Regions from separate parts of the Homo sapiens genome. Here all the other regions are linked to region 2. The links are contacts of gene promoters, found by promoter capture Hi-C in blood cells and fetal thymus (Javierre and others, 2016). All regions are on one chromosome and are shown on one strand. Each heading gives the region's core, a stretch centred on a gene start or on the middle of the fragment in contact. The rest is flanking DNA. Distances are from core to core; before and after follow the strand shown. Region 1 overlaps BAZ1B (bromodomain adjacent to zinc finger domain 1B). Region 2 holds the start of VPS37D (VPS37D subunit of ESCRT-I). Region 3 overlaps BAZ1B (bromodomain adjacent to zinc finger domain 1B). Region 4 has its middle 2.6 kb from the start of TMEM270. Region 5 overlaps BAZ1B (bromodomain adjacent to zinc finger domain 1B). Region 6 overlaps BAZ1B (bromodomain adjacent to zinc finger domain 1B).

Region 1 (2,700 bases), core at 47-2,546, 160 kb before region 2:
AAAAAAAGACTTAACTTTTGGCTGGGCGTGGTGGCTCACACCTGTAATCCTAGCACTTTGGGAGGCCAAGGCGGGCAGATCACCTGAGGTCAGGAGTTCAAGGCCAGCCTGGCCAACATGGCGAAACCCTGTCTCTACTCAAAATACAAGAATTAGCCGGGCGTGGTGGCACATGCCTGTAATCCCAGCTACTCGGGAGGCTGAGGCAGGAGAATCACTTGAACACGGGAAGCGAAGGTTGCAGTGAGCCAAGATCACACCATTGCACTCCAGCCTGGGCAACAGAGAGAGACTCAGTCTCAAAAAACAAACAAACAAAAAAAAACACTTAACATTTTACGAGTTTTAGGTTCACAGCAAAACAACACTGCTTTAGCAAATATACGTAAAGCACTGGGGAATACAAAGATTAAAAAAAAACATGCAGTTTGCTGGACACAGTGGGTCCCAGCACTTTGAAAGGCACAGGTGGGAGGATTGCTTGAGCCCAGGAGTTTGAGACCAGCCTGGCCAACAGAGTGAGAACCTGCCTCTATAAAAAACTAAAATAATTAGCTGGGTGAGGTGGCATGCACCTATAGTTCCAGCTACGTAAGAGGCTGAGGCAAGAGGCTGGCTTGATCCCAGGAGCTATGTGCATACCACTGCACTCCACCCTGGGCAACAGAGCGAAACTGTGCCTCTTAAAAAAAAGGAAACCAGGAAGCGTTAACATGTTGGAAACGTGACTTGAACACCAGAGCTGTTGCAAAAGGACAGCAATGATTTAACACTTTTCACTTATTAAACTAGCAAAAAAAAAAAAAAATTTAATTATCATACCCGGTTGGGTGCAGTGGTTCACGCCTGTAATCCCAGCACTTTGGGAGGCCGAAATGAGCAGGTCGCTTGAGGTCAGGAGTTCGAGACCAGCCTGGCTAACATGGTGAAACCCCATCTCTACTAAAAACACAAAAATTAGCCAGGCGTGGTGGTGAGCGCCTGTAGACCCAGCTACTCAGGAGGCTGAGGCACGAGAATCACTTGAACCCAGGAGATAGAGGTTACAGTGGGCCGAAATCGTGCCCCTGCATTCCAGCCTGGGCAACAGAGTGAGACTCCATCTCAAAAATAAAAATAAGAATAAGGGCCAGGCGCGGTAGCTCACGCCTGTAATCCCAGCACTTTGGGAGGCCAAGGCGGGAGGATCACGAGGTCAGGAGATTGAGACCATCCTGGCTAACATAGTGAAACCCCATCTCTACTAAAACTACAAAAAATTATCCGGGCTTGGTGGCGAGCACCTGTAGTCCCAGCTACTTGGGAGGCTGAGGCAGGAGAATCACTTGAACCCGGGAGGCGGAGCTTGCAGTGAGCCGAGATCGTGCCACTGCACTCCAGCCTGGGCGAGAGCGAGATTCCGTCTCAAAAAAAGAAAAAGCAAAAAAGAATAAACCACATTACCAGAGTACTTACAAGGTCAAAGTATGGAGCAGGAACACTCAAAGGCCTGGTAAATACCTAAACAAGTGCACCTATAACTAAATAAATATTCCATATTGCTACTGCAAAATGCCATTAGGCAAAGGAACCCAGAAACCCATACAGTACACTAATGTAATATAGTCTAATTTGTGCCCCATAAACTTAAATACACATACTGCTTTAGGGTTAATATTCCCTCCTTTCCTAACAATGTGAAGATGGTGGCAAAGAGCAATACTTCCATTACTTACAGCTCAGCAACTTCCTGTTCTTCCTCCCAGGCTTCCTTGTGTGTTAGCTGACTGCTTCCAGTACTCTTGCACGTCCAAATGCGCTCACTGTACCTTTCCAAGCGGGCTTCATACTCTCTGTTGGCAGTAGTTCAGGAAAACAATATGCAAGCAACAGAGACGACAAACCCATACCCATAAGATACTTATATACAGAAAAAAATCTAGTCTCCTTTTTAAAATGTGTAGCATGAGAGGATAAAAATGGAATTGGAGGCCGGGCGCAGTGGTTCACGCCTGTAATCCCAGCACTTTGGGAGGCCGAGGCGGGCGGATCACGAGGTCAGATCGAGACCAGCCTGGCTAACACGGTGAAACCCCGTGTCTACTAAAAATACAAAAAATTAGCTGTGAGTGGTTGTGGGCGCCTGTAGTCCCAGCTACTCAGGAGGCTGAGGCAGGAGAATGGCGTGAACCCGGGAGGCGGAGCTTGCAGTGAGCCAAGATCACGCCACTGCACTCAAGCCTGGGAGACAGTGCGGCTCCGTCTCAAAAACTAAAAAAAATAAAAAAAAATGAAAAAAATGGAATCAGGGCCCAAAGCAAGATGACTAAGACTGAAGTATAATGAGAATGGATTGTCATGGGCTGGGCACCTGCATGGGATTTACAGACTGGGATGATCACGTCTCTAATCTCAGCATTTTGAGAGGCCACGGCAGGACAATCACTTGAGACCAGGAGTTCGAGACCAGCCTGGGCAACATGATGAGACCTCATCTCTACAAAAAATAAAAATAAAAAATAATAAAAATGGTTTTTCGTGTTTTACAAAAAAAATTAATATTTTAGTACAAATGTGATTTCCTCAATTCACCAAAGTTTCATTACACAAGACTTACGCTGTACCAAAAACTCATAAGAAAAAGTAAAGGTACATTAAAACACAAGTCATAAAAAATAACAATGTAAGGTAAGCAAAATTTTCAGAAAACTCAGACAAGTT
Region 2 (2,824 bases), core at 153-2,652:
TTTTTTTCTTTGTTTGAGACGGAGCACGGAGTCTCTGTCGCCCAGGCTGGAGTGGAGTGGTGCTATCTCGGCTCACTACAACCTCCGCCTCCCAGGTTCAAGCGATTCTCCTGCCTCAGCCACCTGAGTAGCTGGAATTACAGGCGCCCACCACCACGCCCGGCTAATTTTTGTTGGTCAGGTTGGTCTCAAACTTCTGACCTCAAATGATTCACCCACCTTGGACTCCCAAAGTGCTGGGATTACAGGCATGGGCTACCGTGCCCGGCCTCTGTGATGCTTCTGCATGTCTAAAATAACAAGTGGGTATTGACCTACTATGTGTATTCATTATAACATTGCTAGCCATATCACTATCCCTCAGCATTTTAATTTTACTTTTATAGAGATGGGGTCTTGCTGTGTTGCCCAGGCTGGTCTCAAAACTGAGCTCAAGCAATCTCCCACCTCTGCCTCCTGAGTAGCTAGGACTACAGACGCATGCCACCATGTCCGGATACTTTTTAAAAGCATTTAAATACTTTTAAAAATTGTTCTTTTCACTCTTTTTTTTTTTTTTTTTGAGACGGAGTCTCGCTCTGTCACCCAGCCTGGAGTGCAGTGGCGCGATCTCCGCTCACTGCAAGCTCCGCCTCCCGGGTTCACGCCATTCTCCTGCCTCAGCCTCGCGAGTAGCTGGGACTACAGGCGCCCGCCACCACGCCCGGCTAATTTTTTTTGTATTTTTAGTAGAGACGGGGTTTCACCATGTTAGCCAGGATGGTCTCGATCTCCTGACCTCGTGATCCGCCCGCCTCGGCCTCCCAAAGTGCTGGGATTACAGGCGTGAGCCACCGCGCCCGGCCTCTTTTCACCCTTTTGACAATTTTTAAATTTTTTTAAATAGAGACGGGGGTCTTGTTATGTTGCCCAGGCTGGTCTCAAACTCCTGGCCTCAAGCGATCCTCCCTTCTCGGTCTCCCAAATCGCTGGAATTACAGGAGAGAGCCACCGCGCCCGGCCAGCAAGTCAGCGCTCACCATCTCCAACCCCATTTTACAGAAGAGAAAACTGAGGCTTGGGGAGGGCTGCAAGGCAGGAGCCCTCGGCGCCCGGCCAAAGTCAGAAATTTGTTGTTGCCATCCGAGGGGAAAACGTGCACGGGCTCTGCAAATTGTAACCGCCCGGGGTGGGAGAGTCCGTGCCTGGGGGCGTGGTGAGCCAGGGCCGGTGCTGGGGCGCAGAGCAGGGCGGCTCAGATTCCGGGAGGGGCGGGGAGATCGGGTTGCTGGGCGATCCTGGGGTGCTGGAGGCGGCGCGGCGCGGCCGGGGCGGGGAGGGGTGCGGCCCGCCTCCTCCCTGCCCCACCCCCAGCCCCGGCGCCGCGGCTCCTTTAAGAGCGGGAGGGGCGCCCCCTGGCGGCGGAGCGGTGCGTGCGGCCGGAGCCGGAGCGGATCCTGGAGCCGGAGCGGAGCGGAGCGGAGCGGAGCCGGGGCGGAGCGGGCCGAGCGGGCCGAGCCAGCAGCCGAGCTGGGGGCGCGGGCGGGCGGCATGTACCGGGCCCGGGCGGCGCGGGCGGGGCCGGAGCCCGGCAGCCCGGGGCGCTTTGGGATCCTCAGCACCGGGCAGCTCCGGGACCTGCTTCAGGATGAGCCCAAGCTGGACCGGATCGTGCGGCTCAGCAGGAAGGTAGCGCGGGGGGCTCGAGCGGGGGGCGCGGGGGACGGGCAGCGGCCTGCGGGACCTGCCGCTCGAGGGAAGGGCCGCGCGGGCCGGGCCGCGGGGCCGCCCGTGGGCGCGGAGCCTGGCACGTACGAGTGGGCCCCGCGGAGCCACCCCCGGGGGAGGGGGCGCTTGGAGCTGGCCTGGGGCGGGTGGGGCGCCGGGGACCCGAGGGGGGCGCCTGTGCACCCCCAGGATGGCCGCGAGGCGTGTCCTACAGCGGATGCTCCGGGGAGGTGTGTTCCGGGGGGCTGTGTTGTGGGGGGCCCTGGCTCGCACACCCACGTTCTGTAAGGGCCAGAAAGAGGAGGCGCCTTCCACTGGGAGAACTAGGGGCCTGTCTGACACCTGGAGGGGCCGTTGGGGGTTCACGCATTCTGGGGGCGCAAGAGGGGGCTTTGTGCCTGGCGTTGGGGAGGGGTGCTGGAAGCTGCCGTGTGTATTGCATAGGCCACCGTAAGAGAAAGTTGTATATTTCACGGGAGATAGGCCCGGGCTGGTTGTCTGTGGGGGGCAGAAAGGGCAAGTGTGTGTTGAAAGCAGGCAGGCGAGGAGGGGCTTGTGCATCCCACAAGGGACAGATGGAGGGGAGTGCGTTCTCCAGGGGCAGGGAGGGGAGGTTGGGCCCTGCTAGAGACAAGGAAAAAGCCTTCTCCAGGGCCGGGGCTGCTGTAAGCCCGGAGCAGGGAGGAAAAGGGGGTGTGTATTCCTTGGGGTGTGAGGATTCCACTGGAGGCAGAGGAAGGGGTGGGAAGGGAAGAGAGGGTGACCCGAGGGGGTGCTGTGAGGGGACGGGGTGCAGACACCCCTCTGGAGAGGATGAGCAGGGGGTGGGAGTGTTTTCGGTGCAAACACCTGAGGAGGAAACAGACAAAGGCCTGGAGTGAGAGGGAAGCTGTCCATGCATGGAAAATGGGGCAGAGGAGGGAGGGGCACTCCTCCGGGACCTGAGCAGACATATTAATTGAAAAATTAAAAATTAACTAACATTTGTAGAGGCCTTTATAGTTTTCCTCACTTAAGTCTCTCAACAACCCCATAAGGTGGATGTTTTTTAACTCGATTTGTAAAAGAGGAAACTGAGGCCAGAGAGGGAGCTCAGGGCAGAGCCAGTTCTGGTCCC
Region 3 (2,807 bases), core at 252-2,751, 220 kb before region 2:
ACAGATGACTAAAGTTCTGAGCCAATCAAAGGATTTAAAACTAAACTAACTAAAATAGTTACAAGGATTAACTAATTTTGTTTTCTGTAAAAAATCAGAAGATTGAAGAGATCAATTGCTTTTATGTTATGCTCTAAACCGAGGAACAAAGGGCCTGCTCTGATTCCCTGGCACGACATTTCAAAGACTGGCATGTTACAGACCTGCAGGAGAGTAAAATCTATACCACACTTATATTCTGTGTACACAAAATTCTTTTGGGTAGAAATGAAGATCTTGGGAATAGAAATCCTACTCCCTAATATACCCACATAAGCAAATTTGATTTAAATATACCTTTCTTTCGACAAACTTTGCACCTAGCATTTTCTGCGGACATATCCCACTTGATACAGGCATCAAGCATCCCAAGCAGCACGTGCATCCTGGAGAAAGTCTGAGCTTCCCGGATTGCTGTCTTCCATTTCTCCAGTGCAGATGCAACCTAAACAGAGACCAAACCAGGCCAGCATTACTACACTGACCAAAGACACTGAGAGAGAACTAGGAACAGGGGACAGTATGAGAGAATTCTGAGGACACTTGCCTCCTAGAACTTCACTAATCTAAACCATTTATTCTTATAAAAGGCTCCAAAGGGGGAAAAAAACTTGCCAAAGGTCACACAGAGATGCAGTGGAGTGGGTGGATGACTGGGGACAAGCATCTTCTAGGGAAATCCACCTAACAACTCAGTATAATTTAAAAATAGGATCACCTGTATGCTGTAAATGCTATAATGCAACAATTTTAGACAGCTAATAAAACTCCGATTTAAAAGATAATCAATAACCTACCACAACACCACCAATCCAATACCACAGCTGGATTTCAATGCCCTGCCCGAAGCAAAGAAGTCCTTGTGAAGTAATGAATCTCCTAAAGGAAAACAGCCAGTTATCCTGGAAGGTCATGGGCTTTAAAATACAGGTGCCAAGGAACAAAGATAGTTGATTCTGTTCCGAAGTGGGGTACTAAACAGACTGGGGAGAGGGATGAGGGGAACAGGGCTGCTTTTTCTCTTTCCTATAGAAACAGAGAATCACAGGGAGCCTTGTGTGTATAAATTTATGAATAACAAGGATAAGTAATATAAACACACATACAAAAATCTACATTTAAGAAGCTGCTAAAGTTCAACTGGAAACTGACTGACTCTGTTGTAGATATTTCAACATCTGCTTTGAAAAACAGCAATCTCCTTCCTTACTTTTGCAGAGCTCCTCAGTAAACTGAGGTCCACAATCACAGCTGCCTTGCTGTCTTCTCCCCTGATAAAAAGAGAGCTGACAGACACTACTGCAGATTCTCTTCTTGAGAGGATAACCCAAATCTTTTCAATGGAATATCAATGTAAGAATTTCAGGTTCGGTTCTTTAAAAGTGCTTGAGAACTGGCAGGGAATGACTACCAATGGGCTTTGCTGTCCTCTAGTGGACATTCACATGTAGTGCACACAGTATGGAAGAAAACAGTCATGGGCAGTCCTGCTTTTTACTATTTCCTATGAATTATAAAATCTGAGCATCCAATAGCTCATCTGACCTCATTAAAACTTTTTTTAAATTTGAAGGTGTTTTGGGAATAGGCTTATTTAACCTCGTTTTTTTAAAAAACAGATTTTAAATAGTATCATACAATAATAGGTAGCCCTTGTAACTGGCTTCTTTCACTGAGCATGTTTCTAGGTTCATTCGCAAAGCATGTAACAGTACTTTCATCAGTTTTACTGCTGAACAATATCTCATTGAATAGACATTGCACATGCTGTTTATCCATTCATCAGCTGACAGTTACCTGGGCTGCTTCCGTATTTTGGTTATTCAGAATCACCCCATCTTACGATGGGTCAAACCTATGACTTCACAATGGTGCAAAAGTGATACACGTTCGGCCGGGCGTGGTGGCTCACACCTATAATCCCAGCACTTTGGGAGGCCGAGGCGGGCGGATCACAAAGTCAGGAGTTCGAGACCAGCCTGGCCAATATGGTGAAACCTGGTCTCTACTAAAAATACAAAAATTAGGCGGGTGTGGTGATGTGTGCCTGTAGTCCCAGCTACTCGGGAGACTGAGGCAGGAGAATTGCTTGAACCCGGGAGGCGGAGGCTGCAGTGAGCCGAGATTGCACCACTGCACTCCAGCCTGGGTGACAGAGCAAGACTTCATCTCGAGAAAAAAAAAAAAAAAAAAGTGATACACATTCAGCAGGCTCCTCGACTTATGATAGGGTTAAACCCAGATAAAACCATCATAAATTATAAATACTGTAAGTCAAACAATGGGTTTATTGGGACATAGCCCCATCCTAAATTCAGGAGCATCTGTAATCAGGATGTCCGGACAAACGCCACCAAAGTAAACAATCAAACAAAACCCAGGATTTTGCCAAACAATATATCAGTCTTTTCTATTTAATTCAATAAAACAAAATAAGCATTAAAAACCGAAATCAACCACTATTACAAAAAGAGATTTGAGAGACAATCCATTTTTATAAATAAGGAAGCTGAATCCTAGATTAGAGACTGATAAAAGCTCATGCAACAGCCTAGTGCCAGTTGAAAAAACTTTGGCCCTTGCTAAGTGGAAACCTTCAAAGCAAAGAGCAGTGGAAAATTTCAAAGCTGTGGCTGAGTTGACCTCTGGTGGGGAACCACGAGGCATAATGCCATTTTAATGCAGAACACTGCTGAACTACTTAGTAGGCAACCTAGTTGATTTTCCAAGAAACTCTTCCATGCTTTCCATTTATGTACTGTGTCTGG
Region 4 (2,700 bases), core at 104-2,603, 190 kb after region 2:
CAGGGAAGGGCAGGTGACTAGAGCTGGGACTGAGACATGTGCCTAGCATTCCCATGGGGCTGCCCATAGGGGCTGTGGGACAGAGTGAGGTCTCTTCTGCTCTAGCTCCCACACTGACCACGGGGAGTGTGGTCAGTATGAGGCTGGAGATATCAGCTCAGCCTCTGTGGCAGTGGAGTTCTGGGGACAGGGATACCAGGTGATGGTGGTGGCAAACCAAAGAGAGGAGGGAAAACAAACTGCAAATCCCAGTCTCAGCCACCTCTCTTTCTTTTCTTTTCTTTTCTCCCTCCCTCCCTCCTTCCTTCCTTCCTTCCTTCCTTCCTTCCTTCCTTCCTTCCTTCCCTTCTTTTTTTTTTTTGAGATGGAGTCTTGCTCTGTCACCCAGGCTGGAGTGCAGTTGCCTGATCTCGGCTTACTGCAACCTCTGCCTCCCGGGTTCAAGAGATTCTCTTGCCTCAGCCTCCTGAGTAGCTGGGATTACAGGGATGCACCACTACACCCAGCTAATTTTTATATTTTTGGTAGAGACCAGGTTTCATCATGCTGCCCAGGCTGGTCTTGAACTCCTGGCCTCAAGTGATCCACCTGCTTTGGCCTCTGAAAGTGCTAGGATTACAGGAGTGAGCCACTGCACCCGGCTCAGCCACCACCTTCTGACCCCCAGCAATCCCTTTGCCTCTCTCCCCAAACCTACTCCTTCTCTTCCCCGCCCCCACTTGGTGGGCAGCGCTACTTTCTGCCTTTCACTCAAGTCTTCTGGGTTGGGGGTATCCCTGACCCCTGTCTCGCTTTACTTCTTTTCCTGTTCATTCCTCTGTTGGGATGCCTCTGTCTATGTGTCTTTCACATTTCTGTATGTCTTGTGAGTGAGGCACTAATGGATTGCCTTTTGCCCTGGACTTTCTTTTCTAGGATATCTGTATATCAGACAACCTTGGAAGACATAATGTCTCCTTCTGGGGCAAAAGGCAGCCCTGCTTACTGCACATTAGAAAAGATTTGGGTTTCCTGGCCAGGCGCGGTGACTCATGCCTGTAATCCCAGCACTTTGGGAGGCGCTGGCAGGCGGATCACCTGAGGTCAGGAGTTCGAGACCAGCCTGGCCAATATGGTGAAACCCCATCCCTACTAAAAATACAAAAATTAGCTGGGCTTGGTGGTGCGAGCCTGTAATCCCAGCTACTCGGGAGGCTGAGGCAGGAGAATTGCTTGAACCTGGGAGGCGGAAGTTGCGGCGAGTGGAGATGGTGCCACTGCACTCCAGCCTGGGCGACAGAGTGAGACTCCATCTCAAAAAAAGAAAAAAAGAAGGCTGGGCGAGGTGGCTCCCACCTGTAATCCCAGCACTTTGGGAGGCGCTGGCGGGTGCATCACCTGAGGTTAGGAGTCTGAGACCAGCCTGGCCAAGCTGGAGAAACCCTGTCTCTACTAAAAATACAAAAAAGTAGCCGGGTATGGTGGTAGGCGCCTATAATCCCAGCTACTTGGGAGGCTGAGGCAGGAGAATTGCTTGAACCCGGGAAGTGGAGGTTGCAGTGAGCCGAGATTGTACCACTGCACTGGGTGACAGAGCAAGACTCCATCTCAAAAAAAAAAAAAAAAAAAAAAAAAGAAAAGAAAAGATTTGGGTTCCCTAAACTCAAGCCACCTCTCCTGTAACACACCCACCTCAGATACTGCCAGGCATCATCTGGCCCTTGTCATATCACCCTGTGGGATTTGGAGCTCAAGGAATGAATGGAAAATGCTTATAACCTAGTTCACTGCTATTGCCATGAGTAACATTGTCTTTGATCTCTGACCTGGGAGTCTCATGTCTTCCTGTGGCAGCTGTGGAGCTCTGGTTGGCTAACTTGTTAGCATGAAATTGGGCAACGTCTCAGATCATCGTGGGTCTTGACATCCTCCAATTCTATCTGTTGTACCTGCTACAGATTTCTGGCATCTGTTGTCTCCATTTCCAGGGCCTCAGCCCTGGTCAAGGCTCCCATCATCACATGTCTAGGGGTTTATTTGTTCTGGATTCCTTTTTGCTGTCCCTACCCCAGAGTCCTCTGCCTTAGTTTCCATGCACACTGCTTGAGCCGCCTGCTGCAAGACCCCCACCCGACCATCTGCTGGAGGGCTTTCTCTGGTGTTTGTGCTGGTAAGATTGGAGGTTCAGCGGGAGTTAATGTCCAACAGGAAGCAGACAGGTCATGGAAGATAAATACCCCAGTATTCATGCTCCTTGGGTGGGGTGACTCTGAGGTGCGTTCTGCACCATTTTCCAGGGGATTTTGGGGATCAGCCCCGGTTGTCTGAACTCAAACCCTGCTCATGAACTCATCTGTCCTTGCCTCTCTTTCTTTTCTTTCTCTTTCTTTTCTTTCCTTCCTTCCTTTTTCTTTCTTTCTTTCTTTTTCTTTCTCTCTTTTTCTTTCTTTTCTTTCTCTTTCTTTCTTTCCTTCTTTTTCTTTCTCTTTCTTTCTTTTTCTTTCTTTCTTCTTTCTTTCTTTCTCTCTCTCTCTCTCTCCCCCTCCCCTCCCCTCCCCTCCCCTTCCCTCTTTTTATCACAGAGTCTCACTCTCTTGCCCAGGCTGGAGTACAGTGGCATGATCTCAGCTCACTGCAACCTCTGCCTTCTGGGTTCAAGCAATTCTCCTGCCTCAGCCTCCTGAGCAGCTGAGATTATAGGTGCACGCCACCATGCCAGGC
Region 5 (2,863 bases), core at 216-2,715, 180 kb before region 2:
CTTTACATAATTTTCCTCTCTCCCACGTAAGCCCTCACTATGGGTCCTTTGGTAAAACTATTTTATTTATTTATTTATTTGAGACAGAGTCTCACTTTGTTGCCCAGGCTGGAGTGCAGTGGCGTGATCTCGGCTCACTACAAGCTCAGCCTCCCAGGTTCATGCCATTCTCCTGCCTCAGCCTCCCGAGTAGCTGGGACTACAGGTGCCCGCCACCACGCCCGGCTAATTTTTTGTATTTTTAGTAGAGACGGGGTTTCACCATGTCAGCCAGGATGGTCTCGATCTCCTGACCTCGTGATCCGCCCAACTCGGCCTCCCAAAGTGCTAGGATTACAGGCGTGAGCCACTGCGCCTGGCCTGCTAAAACTATTGCTCAGAACTCACTCTCTTTACACCTGGTCTCACTCTACAGTAAATGTACTCAGAGCCTGACAGAACATTACATTCTACAAAAACCAAAGAGTATACAGAGAGAGAAAACATCCCATGCCTTTGGATGGATGGGTCCTATGTGATCAACTTTAATCCTCAACAGATTATTTTAAATTTCTTCTAGAAAAAGAAAGAAAACAAAGCAATGTTTTAGGTTCTACTTATCATCTGTGTTACTATGTTTTGCCCTGGCTGAGAAGCCAAAGTCCTAATTTTATAAATAGGAAAAACACAGCTTATATACAGAAAACAATCAGTGACATGTCAGATAGTATTAGGAAATAAGAAATTATTGTTTAAGGTAGGGAAAACAAATAATAAACCTGAGTATATGCCTTTAACTTTGTAGACCAGTATTTTACATGAGTCTTAAGTTTTCTGAGTAAAATCACTGCCATCTTCCAGCACTTTAAGCAAGCTTCCATTTCCTAGTCTTAACCTAAATTATAGCCAAATTTCATAACATTAGTAAGTTAAGCCCCCACTAGAAATTCTGGGAGAAGCTTATTTCTTCAGAAATTGCCTTTCAGGTTTTAAGTTCCTGGAGTTCTAGTCTCTCTCTCCTACAAAAATTGTGGATCAGCTGGGCGTGGTGGTACGTGCCTGTAGTCCCCAGCTACTAGTGAGACACAGGGAGGAGGATCACTTGAGCCCAGAAATTTCAGGCTGCAGTGAACTGTGATTGTCCCACTGCACTCCAGCCTGGGTAACAGAGCAAGACCCTGTCTCTAAAGTAAGAAATAAGTGTGGATCAGCTTTTATGTCTTAGGAAACTCAAAAAATATTTTACCCATAAAAAGAGTCTTTCACATTATTCACATACTTGAATCACTAAACTAAAATACATAAAACAGAGCTGTAAGATTAGAAAAGAGGAAAATATTAAGGACTCAAGTAATCCAAGAATTAGTCTAAAACCCATTTAGAGATGGTTTCATGGAGTTCTCATATAGCGAAGATAGGAATCTCATGTGAAGACCACAGAAAGCTGAATCATGGTTCCAAACTCTGTGGCAACAAAATGACAGTGAACTCAAAATTTCTCCTCAACAAACAAAAACAAACATCTGAGAAAAAAATTATAGTTCCATGGAAAATTTAGTCCTGATCTAGAAAAAGCCAATTACTTTCTAAATTTTTCCTTTTAAGCAAATAATAATAATTTAAAGAGCATAACAGAAGACACCACTTATCTTGCTGGTCTAGAATAAGAAAATCTGCTAAGTGCTAAAACCATGACTGGAGGTCTTTACTAATGTTTTGGAGAAATAAAATTACTTTTCAATATGCTTTTGTCACCATAATCAACTTAAGATAATTGAACAAATTTAGTTGTTATGACTTCAGATGTCTTTATATTTTCATAATTAAATGAAATGGGAAAAAAAGAAATCCTGGAAATGTGACCTAGTTTTAATGGATCAAGAGCCCTTTTCTGGTTCTACGCTGGCCCAGAGACCAAGATGAAAATTATCAGCCAGTATGCTGCGTTACATTTACCAATGAAAGAAGCATTAAGTACTTTCAAAACCTACATTAAAAAACCACTTTAACAGGTAAAGCTTGAAATGGAAAAGAAAATCAGAAATCCTAGGCCAGTGTCTTAAGTCTTGTCATCACTTTCTGTTGGTTCTGATTAGACTAGGCCTCAGATACCCCATCTGTAAAATGAAATATATATATGTACCATATAACTTCATAAAAATATTTGGAAAATCAAAAGTGAGGATTTTAAAAATTACTCCTTCTCGGCCAGGCATGGTGGCTCACATCTGTAATCCCAGCACTTTGGGAGGCCGAGGCAGGCGGATCACTTGAGGTCAGGAGCTCAAGACTAGCCTGGCCAACACGGCAAAACCCCATCTCTACTAAAAATAGAAAAATTAGCCAGGTGTGGTGGCACATGCCTGTAATCCCAGCTACTCAGGAGGCTGAGAAGAAGGAGAAGGAGGTTGCAGTGAGCCGAGATCGCACTACTGCACTCCAGCCTGGGTGACAGAGCGAGACTCCAACTCAAAAAAAAAAAAAAAACAAAAAAAACTTACTCTTCAAGAGGAAAATACTAGGTTTTCCACTAATCTATCACACACACTGCTCCTCATTCCAGGTTCTTTTCAAGGCTGCCACTGTATGTGATCATCTTGTCCGACATGCAAAATCAGTTTTCATTCTTGGTAACTGGTTAACAAAATACTTTTTATATTTATACCATACCTCATTCCAAAAAGGGTCTGAGGCACAAAAGCACATGTATATAGACTTTTAAAATTATGCTAGCATAATAAAAAATAAATTGAACTGGGGAAGATATTAAATGTGGCCTCTCCCCTACCAACCTCACATAACAACCTGTATGTAACAGATATACCTGAAAAATTTTTAATTCATTATCTGATGTTAGAGTTCAAAACCTGCTATAAATATAAAT
Region 6 (2,700 bases), core at 165-2,664, 200 kb before region 2:
ATGTTAAGAGCAAAGGCATCTGTAGTGAAGCAGAGGTAATGAGAACATATAAATACTATAGACTTATCCTTGGAGGCTTCAAGTGTCAAATAATACAACTAACTTTTTTGTAAATCAGTTCCTATATACTGATACGTGACTTTAACATAGATATATCTTGAGCCAATTTATCAAAGCCTATCTTAGATCATCACAATATTTGGTTTTTTGTTTTGTTTCGTTTTGTTTTTTGAGATAGAGTCTCGCTCTGTCGCCCAGGCTGGAGTGCAGTGGTACAATCTCAGCTCACTGAAACCTCTGCCTCCCAGGTTCATGCAATTCTCCCTGCCTCAGACTCCCGAGTGGCTGGGATTACAGGCACACACCAACACACCTGGCTAATTTTTCTATTTTTAGTAGAGATGGGGTTTCACCATGTTGGCCAGGCTGGTCTCCAACTCCTGACCTCAGGTGATCCGCCCGCCTTGGCCTCCCAAGTGCTGGGATTACAGGTGTGAGCTACCACGCCCGGCCAGTCACCACAATATTTGAAGCCTTACCTCATACTATGATTGTTTATCTTCTCTTTCCCATTCTCCCCACTTTAACCTGAAACATCTCTGCAATACTAACACATAACTTTGTTTAGTCTTTTCAATTGGGTAATTTATTTATTTTTTTTAATTTTTTGAGACAGAATGTTGCTCTGTCACCCAGGCTGCAGTGCAGTGGCGCAATCTTGGCTCACTGCAACCCCTGCCTCCTGGGCTTAAACAATTCTCTTGCCTCAGCCTGCCAAGTAGCTGGGATTACAGGTGCCCGCCACCACACCCGGCTAATTTTTGTGTTTTTTGTAGAGACGGGGTTTCGCCATGTTGGCCAGGCTGGTCTTTTAACTCTTGAGCTCAAGTGATCCGCCTGCCTCAGCCTCCCAAAGTGCTGGGATTATAGGCATCAGCCACTGCATCCAGCCTCAGTTGGGTAATTTTAAATAAAAACTGCCATTCTAGAACTGGAAAACACGAAACAACATCCACCAGGATGCTCTAGAAGTGAAGGGTCTGGCTCCCCAATCTTGTCTCGGGGACACATTATAAAGTAACACTCCTTCATCCCACTGGAATCTCTTCCAAATCTAAACATCCAGGCTCCACAGTTACTGCTCTCAAACCTAACTGCCCTCACCTGAGTATTTATGAAGTCTAACGAAACCAGATTCTTCTATAAAGTGACATAATCTATGCTCGATATAATTCAACATGCAAACACCTTAAATCTGAAGTTTTATTTGAAGGAATGTTTATTTTTGTAAATCAGTATTATTCTTATTTAACAATTTTGTGAGTTTCAAGCTTGAGTTAGGAATTTCTCTAAAATGAATTACTTTTTAAAAAATAAAGATTTATCGAAGAAGCACAATAACCTAGTACTCAGGAAGCAACTTCTTTTATTTCTTTATCTCCCACATGACACCAACACATAAGCAATTTTCATTAGGTTACAGACAGCAGAGCTGAAAGAAGCTTATGGATCATTTAACCTAGTGGTTCTCGAAAGGGAGCACTGCTGCCTGCCACATGTATCTGGCAGGATTTAGAGACATACTTGGTTTTCACTGCTACCACCTAGTGGGTAGAGGGGAGCTCCCGAATAACCTATAATGCACAGGACAGCTCCCAGTACAAAAAACTATCTTCCTCATCAGTGTCATGGTGGGAGGAAAAAAAAAAAGATTCATCTAGCCCAAAATGTCAGTAACACTGAGGTTGAGAAAACCTGACCTAACCTAACCATCTTATTTTTTTAATTAAAATTTGTTTTATTTCTTTCTTGAAATATACTCAATACATACACTTTAAGAAAGAATATGGATATATATTCAGAAAACTATTCAGTGTGTGTTTCTTTTACAAACTGAACACATATACCCGGCACCCAGATCAAGAGAAAGAATATTACCAGTGTCCCTACATGATCCCCTCTCAGTCACTCATTTTTCGTTAGGTATTTGCCATGTTTCTCCTCACAAGAATTTTAAGAACCTTATCTGTCTTGTTTGCTGCTATACCCCTAGCGTATGACAAACTGCTTCACAAATAGAGATTCAGCATAAACACTGAATAAATTAATTTTAAAAGTAGAAGAAGAGGGTCAGGTGCAGTGGCTCACACTTGTAATCCCCAGCACTTTGGGAGGCCGAGGTGGGCAGATCACCTGAGGTCAGGAGTTTGAGACCAGCTTGGCCAACATGGCGAAACCCCGTCCCTACAAAAAATACAAAAATTAGCCAGATGTGGTGGCACACACCTGTAGTCCCAGCTACTCGGGAGACTGAAGTAGGAGAAGTGTTTGAACCCAGGAGGTGGAGGTTGCAGTGAGCCGAGATCACGCCATTGCTCTCCAGCCTGGGCAACAAGAGTGAAATTCCGTCTCAAAAAAAAAAAAAAAAAGAAGAAGAAGAAGAGGACATCTAACACTGCCCTTCTTAGACCCCATACCTCAATTTCAGCCCTTGAGGCACCTACAAAGGCTTCCAAGGGACAAAGTTTGAAAACTGCTCCTATAAAAGCTAATACCCAAATATCCTCATATTCAAGCTCTTCATCTTCTCACACTATGCTTAGAACAAAGGTGGTAATCAAACGTGGGTTTCTCTCCTTCTTTCTACACATTTCACATCTACCTACTTCACTCAAATAGATCTAAGACCACAATAAAGAA

What was found. The method cuts DNA at HindIII sites, captures the fragments that hold promoters and counts their contacts. A CHiCAGO score of 5 or more calls a contact.
Region 1: a fragment that was not itself captured here is called in contact with the fragment with the promoter of VPS37D in region 2 in 5 of 17 cell types (naive CD8 T cells, total CD8 T cells, total B cells and 2 more); the score reaches 6.1 in naive CD8 T cells.
Region 3: a contact is called between a fragment that was not itself captured here and the fragment with the promoter of VPS37D in region 2, in 2 of 17 cell types (activated CD4 T cells and M2 macrophages). The highest score is 6.4, in activated CD4 T cells.
Region 4: a contact is called between a fragment that was not itself captured here and the fragment with the promoter of VPS37D in region 2, in 6 of 17 cell types (endothelial precursors, erythroblasts, naive CD8 T cells and 3 more). The highest score is 7.3, in endothelial precursors.
Region 5: a contact is called between a fragment that was not itself captured here and the fragment with the promoter of VPS37D in region 2, in 13 of 17 cell types (total CD4 T cells, activated CD4 T cells, M0 macrophages and 10 more). The highest score is 7.2, in total CD4 T cells.
Region 6: a contact is called between a fragment that was not itself captured here and the fragment with the promoter of VPS37D in region 2, in 14 of 17 cell types (total CD8 T cells, total B cells, megakaryocytes and 11 more). The highest score is 11.4, in total CD8 T cells.

Annotation. Positions count from the first base shown.
Region 1 is chr7:73,509,021-73,511,720 of GRCh38, forward strand. BAZ1B (bromodomain adjacent to zinc finger domain 1B) reads right to left here. Exons shown (of 20, transcript NM_032408.4): 2 at 1,716-1,832. Among named protein-coding and RNA genes, the nearest start is that of BAZ1B, 12 kb to the right of the region's middle. The HindIII fragment of the contact is 3,762 bases long and covers 1-2,700 here.
Region 2 is chr7:73,666,429-73,669,252 of GRCh38, forward strand. VPS37D (VPS37D subunit of ESCRT-I) reads left to right here and starts at 1,403. Exons shown (of 4, transcript NM_001077621.2): 1 at 1,403-1,668. The coding sequence starts at 1,531. RefSeq lists silencers at 1,014-1,063, 1,074-1,173, 1,284-1,583 and an enhancer at 1,565-2,560. The HindIII fragment of the contact is 11,431 bases long and covers 1-2,824 here.
Region 3 is chr7:73,450,511-73,453,317 of GRCh38, forward strand. BAZ1B (bromodomain adjacent to zinc finger domain 1B) reads right to left here. Exons shown (of 20, transcript NM_032408.4): 14 at 337-484. Among named protein-coding and RNA genes, the nearest start is that of FZD9, 18 kb to the left of the region's middle. The HindIII fragment of the contact is 5,068 bases long and covers 1-2,807 here.
Region 4 is chr7:73,857,164-73,859,863 of GRCh38, forward strand. No RefSeq gene overlaps it. Among named protein-coding and RNA genes, the nearest start is that of TMEM270, 2.6 kb to the right of the region's middle. The HindIII fragment of the contact is 4,951 bases long and covers 1-2,700 here.
Region 5 is chr7:73,486,265-73,489,127 of GRCh38, forward strand. The region is part of intron 6 of BAZ1B (bromodomain adjacent to zinc finger domain 1B); the gene reads right to left. Among named protein-coding and RNA genes, the nearest start is that of BAZ1B, 35 kb to the right of the region's middle. The HindIII fragment of the contact is 1,059 bases long and covers 937-1,995 here.
Region 6 is chr7:73,466,719-73,469,418 of GRCh38, forward strand. The region is part of intron 9 of BAZ1B (bromodomain adjacent to zinc finger domain 1B); the gene reads right to left. Among named protein-coding and RNA genes, the nearest start is that of FZD9, 34 kb to the left of the region's middle. The HindIII fragment of the contact is 171 bases long and covers 1,330-1,500 here.